Regions from separate parts of the Homo sapiens genome. Here all the other regions are linked to region 1. The links are contacts of gene promoters, found by promoter capture Hi-C in blood cells and fetal thymus (Javierre and others, 2016). All regions are on one chromosome and are shown on one strand. The core of a region is centred on a gene start or on the middle of the fragment in contact, and the rest is flanking DNA. Distances in the headings are between cores, read along the strand shown.

Region 1 (2,758 bases), core at 145-2,644:
TGGTGAAACCCTGTCTCTACTAAAAATACAAAAATTAGCTGGGCATGGTAGCATGCGCCTGTAATCCCAGCTACTCAGGAGGCTGAGGCTGGAGAATCTCTTGAACCTGGGAGGCAGAGGTTGCAGTGAGCCGAGATCCTACCACTGCACTCCAGCCTGGTGTCAGAACGTGGCCCCGTCTCAAAAAAAAAAAAAAGAAAGAAAGAAACGAAACTTTGAAGCATTCAATTTTTTTTTTTTTTTTTTTTTTTGAGACAGTGTCTTGTTTTGTTGCCCAGGCTGGAGTGCAGTGGGGGCACCATCATAGCTCAATGCAGCTTCAAACTCCTGGGCTCAAACGATCCTCCTGCTTCAGGCTCCCCAGTAGCTAGGAGCACAGGTGCATCAACACCTGAGCAATTTTTGTTTTGTTTTGAGAAAGAGTCTTGCTGTGTCATCCAGGCTGGAGTGCAGTGGCACTATCACTGCTCACTGCAGCCTCAACCTTCCAGCCTCAAGTGATCTTCCTGCCTCAGCCTCCAGAGTAGCTGGGATTACAGGCACACATCACCAGACCCAGCTGTTTGTTTTTTGGCAGAAACGATGTCTCACTATGTTGCCCAGGCTGGTCTCAAACTTCTGGGCTGAAGTGCTTCTCCCGCTTTCGCCTCCCAAAGTGCTGGATTACAGGCGTGAGACACCGCGCCTGGTCGATTTCTATTTTTTAACACAAAGCCGTATTATTTGGGGCAAGTCGATTTCATTATCTGGACCTCAATTCTTCCACTGGATAAACATTTCTTCCTTCCTTCAAATGTCCATTGAGCGTCTAGTTTTGTGCCGGACACTGCTCTTGGTGCTGAGCATTAAGTGATGAACAAAACAGACAAGGTGGAGGAAGATAAATGATAAACAAGTCAATAAAGAGATGAGACATAGAAATTTCAGCTAGTGTTAAAGCTATGAAGAAAATAAAACAAGGTTCTGTAACCAACTGGAGGCAGAGGTGCCATTTATTTAGTGGTCAGTGTGATTAGAAGAAGCAGAGGAGTGTCATGACCCAAAACACTCTTTCCAGTAGAATAAGATCTCTCGGGCTGCCAGAGTGGAAGCAGGCAGGCCCTTAGAATTGTAGCCGTCCAGACTAGAAAAACGGTGGACTGGAACAGGGTGACAGCAGCGAAGGCCGGCACTGGGTCCTGTGGCTCAGCAGGAGCAGAACCAAAAGTTGTGTTTCCCTTTAAGAGTTTGAGCCGCAGGGGCGGGGTTGAGGGAGGCTGGGGCTAGCAGAGGGCGGGAGGTCAGAATCAGGAAGAGCCTTCCCTTGGAGTGCGCGCGCGCGGTGCGGGGGCGGGATTTGGGCGAGTCCGCATGGCTGGCTCGGGCCCCGGATGAGGAAGTGCAGGGGGACCATAGAGACGAAGAGGTGGCGGCGGCCGGAGCGCCCCCGGCCTCTGTCGGCTCCGTAGGCTCAGGTAGACCTGGCGACGACGGGGCTGCAGCTGCAGGGGCTGAGCTGGCTGGGCAAGCGCGGGCCGCGGAGGAGGTCTCAGGGTAAGAGGCCGGGACTGGAAGGCTTCGGGCGTAGCCGCCCCGCCCCACTCCGCCCTAAAGGGACCCTCCGCCGGGTGGTGCTGCTAAAGGGGAGTCCAGGCCCCCCGCCCTCTCGGGGCGCGGAAAGGAACCAAGGCTGCCCTGTGGGCGGCGGAACGACCCAGGGAGAGGGAGGAGACCAGGCCCCGCGTCGCTAGAGAAAAGCGGCTTCTCCGAGTCATGGCTCCGACGCGGGAGAGAGACTCCTCTTCAACCTCGATACAACAGGGATCCCCCAACTTATCTCCTCGGAGAGGACGACGCCCCTTATCGGAGGCGTACGCTCTTTCTTAGCGCTCATCCGTTGGTCAGCAGAGGGAGACCCACTCCCAGGGTTCGAGGGGGATTCTGAACTTATCCTGAGGAGGAGTAAAAGATAACCCCTAAATGAGACCTTTCCCCCAACTTTGGTCAGCGTCACCCAGGTGAAGAGTGAGACCCAACTTGCCTGAAAGTGACAGAGGGGATCTTTCTTCCCAGTAAGAAAGAGACTTACCTTCCTCCTTTATTTTTCGCCTGTACCCCAAGATACGGAGAGGAAGACCTTGAAATTTTACTTTATGGTATCAGAAATCAACCTTTCTCCCTCTCCCCTCGTGATGTCCACAGAGAGACCCTCGCTTCTCTTCTTCCCTTTAAGCCTCTTGGTGTGCAGTGAGCTCCTTTCCCTTGCATTATTAAGAGCATGGCTTTTGGAGTGTAATCGTTGCAAACCTGGGTCTCTCACTTAACGTCTTTGTGACCTTGACTATTTGTTTAACTTGTCTGAATCTCAGTCCATCTCCAATTTGGGTTCTGTTTTCTTAGAATTGTCATGCGGGCTAAGGGAGCATTTGTGTAAATACTAGTTATATAGTAAGCTTTTGGTAAGCTGTTGCTATTACTATTACTTAATCTGTTAAAAAAGAAAACTAATATCTTGCACAGAGAAGCATATTTTTCCATGCATGCCCCTCGCAGCCTCCATCACAAGTGTTCAACCATCCTTTCTCACTGGAGTGGAAGACTCCCTCCCACTTAGGGGTTAGAGAAAGAGACACTTCCAGTCCCCTTAGATCCTGCTGTTCAATACTTTCCCAAATTAACAAAGAGGGCCTCACTGAAAATAATCAGTAAAAAAAAGACTTAGCTTTTGGAAACAGGTCTGTGCTCTTAAGAGAAAGTGAGACCTGATGCCAGACGCCAG
Region 2 (2,758 bases), core at 155-2,654, 2.5 Mb after region 1:
TGGTCTAGGTGCTGGCATTTATATCCAAAAAAAAAGTCTACATCTCACTAAAGAAAAAGCTTCCATATTTAAAATAAATCCTGAATCAAGACTGCCCATTTTAGTTAAGATTTAGGGCCTTAAAGTGTCCTCATGTACTGGCCAGAAACAAGTATCAGCTTCCTTTTGTACAATCACCATTTGTAGCACAGAATATAATAATACTCTTTCTTCTCTACCTCAAATATTAAAAGGAAATTCTGAAATTATACACAGAGATAGTAATGTCCTTGTCAAAACTGCTGAGTTAAAATGTGTATGAAAGTATACATAGTTCCAGAAAACAGGAAGCCCCAAGCAATAAAAGTTTTTGAGTTGGCATGTTGTTCATCTGAACTGCTTAAGTTTTTGCAGAGTCCTAAGGTCAACCACATAAGGCATTCATTTATTTAAATTAGAATCTAATACCATCTACCCTACCGTTCATATACCGATTACACCCCACTACATGACACGTCTATAAGATTTACAAGGAGGGCAATTAAAAAAACAAAAAACTAAAAGTGATCAGGGCAATAACTCATGTCATAAAACTATGCAGCAACAGTTAGGGCCTTGTCATGCTAAAGATTACAGCAATAGACACTGGGTTAATAAATAACCTTTTAATTAATCTGTAGTACCCACAAAAGCAGCCAAGCAAAATGAACAAAAATCAACAGAGCAAAATGATTTAATGACCAAAAAAAAAACAAAAAAACAAAAAAACAAAAGACCAGTGGCAAAAAAAGAAAACACACCTACTATGTGCTGACAACTTGAAGGAAAAAGGTGGTAAGAAATATTACACAAACCAAAACTTTTGTTCAACGTAAAAATTAAGAAGTTTTTAAGAATTCCATTGAATTGAGGTTTATATAACCCCTTTCTTCTGAAGTTTAATTTTTAAAAATCCTAGAAGAGAACAGTGTATTTCTATGTATTCCCTCCAATGACTATCCGATAACTTTCATGTGTAAAGGCAGTATGAGGTAAGGAAAAATGCAGCATGTGTGCTTGAACCCACGCACTACCAATTAGGCTCCTGCTAAGTTTTGTTCACACAGTTTGCTCATCAGGCTTAATTTTGGTGTTTTTATACCCCAAAAGTTCTTGGGAGGATTAAGGGAGACAAGAAGGCCACTCTATAAACTGTGAATTTTATACAAACATTATTATTACTAAGTGCAATCTCCAGCTCATCAAAGCTACTAGTCTCTAAACTAGAATGACCTGTACTTTTTAGGCCCACAGTCATGATGGGGATTTCTCAACCAACGACAATGTGATACATGGCTCTAGAGAACCATTAATTTGCCTATAAATCACTCCGTCTCATTCCTGTAAAATGATCTAAGGATTCGGAAGGCTAGATCTAGGCCACATTAACTTTCACATCATGCTTGTTTTAAAAAATGTAATGGCTTTAATACATGAAGTTTATCTCACAATTTCAAAATTCTATGCTAAAAAATCCAAACTGCATAACCTTAGTTCCAGCTCTTCCCACAGCTGCAATTAACACCACTAGAAAGTTTAGATAAACATTTCCCATCCTATTTGAGAAACACCCTAGAAGAGGTTAGGAATTACTTCCCATCAAAATCAGGACACTGGTACTCAATGAGATAAATTACAGACAGGTTTTTCCCCTTAACTGGACTATATATAATTTGGAGAACTAAAGACAGTTTGAAAATAAGAGCTCTGATATCTTTAAGACTTTATTAGAGTCTTTTATAACAGCAATAATAAAAGGGCAGGGGGAGACAGCCTGAAACATTACACAGCACTGAACACAAAAAAATTATCATAGGTTTTTCATGTATCCCACCCAACCTCAGTATCGGAATACAATTTCTTCTAATTCTTAGAATAGTTTATTTTTTAGTATCTTGGAATAATGTTATATATATTCAAGACATACCATGGATTAAAATAATTCATAACACTTAAAACAGAAAATAAAATGTGTCTGGACTAGAAACCAACCAATAGACAAACATGATACATGCAGGGTGGCAGTCTGCTCCTCTAAATAAATCTCATCATGCAATCTATCCTTCAGGGAACAGGGGAAAATCAGCTGGGGAGAAATCACCTGAAATACCTTTGGGAAGGTAAATAACTATTATTAAGGCTTGAAACAAAGTAATATTAAATAAAAAAACCTTTCCCAAAATCATATAAAGAATAGGACATGGATCTGCAAATGGCACCTGAAGCAGTTTTTCATTAGCACCTTGCTGTGTGTGATGTTAGAAAGTTTGGGGGTTCAACAAATGAAAACACCTAAAGGATTAACATTACAGGGTTAGACAAGATGGAAAGCATTTCCCATGCAAGAATGAGCAGGATAGTCAAACCTGTACTGGTCCCTTCTACTGTGGAAAGCACAAAACAAAAAGTAGAGGGTACACTATCAGATGAAGCAAACATGTGAAAACCAGTTTGATTTTTAAGCAGCTCAATTTAAGAAGACTCATTCTTACTCAGTATTAGCATTAGCAAAATCTTTTACATAGTCTCCATTTCATCGTGAGATTATTCAAACAGTTAAAAGTTCTTTTCTCTCTTGGAATTTATCCCACCCACATTCTATTGGAGATCTCTCAAGACTATAAGAGTAGGGAAGAAAGAGAAAAAATACCTCTTCCTAAGAATAAAGGATTCCCCAGATGCCAAGGTATGGACCAGAATATACATCCGAAAGCATGACTAATAAGCTTCTTAGCCAATG
Region 3 (2,758 bases), core at 114-2,613, 2.2 Mb after region 1:
GGCTTAGTCCCACATGGCAGATCTACCCTCCTGGAGGGTACTGTGTTCTTGAGCTATTCTCAACAGTCAGTACTGGTTGGGTGCAGTGGCTCACGCCTGTAATCCCAGCATTTTGGAAGTCCGAGGTGGGCAGATCACTTGAGTGAGGTCAGGAGTTCAAGACCAGCCTGGGCAACATGGTGAAACCCTGTCTCTACTAAAAATACAAAAATTAGCTGGGCATGGTGGTGCATGCCTGTAATCCCAGCTACTTAGGAGGCTGAGGCAGGAGAATCCTTTAAACCCTGGAGTCGGAGTTTGCAGTGAGCGGGGATTGCGCCACTGCACTTCAGCCTGGGTGAGAGAGCAAAACTCTGTCTCAAATAAAAATAAAAATAAAAAAGAGCCAGTATTTTCCTCCTTGCTCCTGGGAAGGAGAAGGAACTGGCCCCGTACAACCAGGGATTCAGGACACGTGTTACTAGCTCCAGATGAGGATTTACACGAAAAAATCCTGGGCCTTGTTTGTACAGTTCATGCCAGGGGTAGGAAATACCTGAAGCTTTCAAATACTGCGTTAGAGTTGTGACTCTGTCCTGGGCAAGTCAGGCCTAAAATGGAGAAACTGGTGATGCACTCCTCAAAAAGCCAAGTGTAAAATGAGGTTAATGCCCTCCCTGACTTGTTGCCTTCACTGGCGTGGCATATTATGGTAAAAATAATAATTAAGAAGTAAGGTTATGCAGGCAAATCCTCTAGCGCCGAAATCTTCCCCGCCGCGCTACCAGGTTCTTTCGTGTTATCTTGGACATAACACAACATTAATTCAACTACTCGGTGGAGCGCCCACTAGCTGCTGGACACTCTCTTAGGCCCTGGGCACAGTGAACGAGAAGCATGTGTCTTTGTTTTTACAGTCTCACCACGCCACCACCTCCCTCGGGGGCCTCCGCGCTGAGCTTCCGGCCTCTACGCCTCGCTTCCGGTCGGCCGCCCCTTCCTTACTTCCGGTTCTCTATGGTGCGCGGGCAAGCTTTGCTCCGCCTCCGGCAGTGGCTTACTCCCGGTGCCAGGTTCTTGGAGCTGTGAGGTGAGGAGGGGACAAGGGCAGTGGGGCTGGGAGATGGGGCGGGGCTGGGCGCTCCGGGACTGAGGTGCTGATCGCCCAAAGGGCGCCCCTGGGCTGGGGTCTGACCCGGCTTCTCCTCCCTCACTACCCGCGGTCCCCGGCCTCTCGGCGCTGCGCTGTTACCTCATCCGAAAAGTGTTCGCTGCAGCATCCTCAGGCTTCACGTTGGAGCCTCTTGATTGTGGTAATGTAGCCTGATGGGGGTGGGGGTGGTGGTGATGGTAACAGCTCACATATATCGTGCTCTTCGGTGTGCCAGGCACTCTACTGTGTTGCCAAAGTCAGGATTTCCCACACTTAAGCCTTTCAGGTCCGGTCTTTGTAGGCTTTGCCAGATCAACTTACCACCTCTACTACCGTTTATTAAAAATTTGTTTGTTTGTTTGTTTTAGTATTTATTGATAATTCTTGGGTGTTTCTCGCAGAGGGGATTTGGCAGGGTCATAGGACAATAGTGGAGGGAAGGTCAGCAGATAAACAAGTGAACAAAGGTCTCTGGTTTTCCTAGGCAGAGGACCCTGCAGCCTTCCGCAGTGTTTGTGTCCCTGGGTACTTGAGATTAGGGAGTGGTGATGACTCTTAAGGAGCATGCTGCCTTCAAGCTTCTGTTTAACAAAGCACATCTTGCCCCGCCCTTAATCCATTTAACCCTGAGTGGACACAGCACATGTTTCAGAGAGCACGGGGTTGGGGGTAAGGCTATAGACCAACAGCATCCCAAGGCAGAAGAATTTCTCTCAGTACAGAACAAAATGGAGTCTCCCTTGTCCACCTCTCTCCACACAGACACAGCAACAATCCGATTTCTCTATCTTTTCCCCACATTTCCCCCCTCTCTACTAGACAAAACCGCCATCGTCATCATGGCCCGTTCTCAATGAGCTGTTGGGTACACCTCCCAGACGGGGTGGCGGCCAGGCAGAGGGGCTCCTCACCTCCCAGAAGGGGCGGCCGGGCAGAGGCGCCCCCCACCTCCCGGACGGGGTGGCGGCCAGGCGGAGGCGCCCCCCTACCCCCGACCCGACGGGGCGGCTGGCCGGGCTGGGGCTGGCCCCCACCTCCCCCCCGGACGGGGCGGCTGGCCGGGCGGGGGCTGCCCCCCACCTCCCGGACGGGGCGGCTGCTGGGTGGAGGGGCTCCTCACCTCTCAGACGGGGCAGCCGGGCAGAGACGCTCCTCACCTCCCAGACGGGGTCGCAGCCGGGCAGAGGTGCTCCTCACATCCCAGACGGGGCGGCGGGGCAGAGGTGCTCCCCACATCTGAGATGATGGGCGGCCGGGCAGAGACACTCCTCACTTCCTAGACGGGATGGGGTCCGGGAAGAGGTGCTCCTCACTTCCCAGACTGGGCAGCCGGGCAGAGGGGCTCCTCACATCCCAGATGATGGGCAGCCGGGCAGAGACGCTCCTCACTTCCCAGACGGGGTGGCGGCCGGGCAGAGGCTGCAATCTTGGCACTTTGGGAGGCCAAGGCAGGCGGCTGGGAGGTGGAGGTTGTAGCGAGCCGAGATCACGCCACTGCACTCCAGCCTGGGCACCATTGAGCACTGAGTGAACGAGACTCCGTCTGCAATCCTGGCACCTCGGGAGGCCGAGGCTGGCCGATCACTCGCGGTCAGGAGCTGGAGACCAGCCTGGCCAACACAGCGA

What was found. Contacts are between HindIII fragments. The CHiCAGO score rates a contact against its expected background, and 5 or more counts as called.
Region 2: a fragment that was not itself captured here is called in contact with the fragment with the promoter of PRR14L in region 1 in 1 of 17 cell types (non-activated CD4 T cells); the score reaches 6.5 in non-activated CD4 T cells.
Region 3: a contact is called between a fragment that was not itself captured here and the fragment with the promoter of PRR14L in region 1, in 2 of 17 cell types (non-activated CD4 T cells and naive CD4 T cells). The highest score is 6.8, in non-activated CD4 T cells.

Annotation. Positions count from the first base shown.
Region 1 is chr22:31,748,768-31,751,525 of GRCh38, reverse strand. It overlaps PRR14L (proline rich 14 like), which reads left to right and starts at 1,394. Exons shown (of 9, transcript NM_173566.3): 1 at 1,394-1,533. RefSeq lists enhancers at 1,169-1,463, 953-1,512, 1,752-2,384. The HindIII fragment of the contact is 5,796 bases long and covers 1-2,434 here.
Region 2 is chr22:29,273,909-29,276,666 of GRCh38, reverse strand. The region is part of intron 4 of EWSR1 (EWS RNA binding protein 1); the gene reads right to left. Among named protein-coding and RNA genes, the nearest start is that of EWSR1, 7.0 kb to the right of the region's middle. The HindIII fragment of the contact is 2,685 bases long and covers 62-2,746 here.
Region 3 is chr22:29,551,982-29,554,739 of GRCh38, reverse strand. It overlaps THOC5 (THO complex subunit 5), which reads left to right and starts at 983. Exons shown (of 20, transcript NM_003678.5): 1 at 983-1,069. RefSeq lists enhancers at 613-682, 66-763, 2,161-2,758 and a silencer at 1,083-1,272. The HindIII fragment of the contact is 698 bases long and covers 1,015-1,712 here.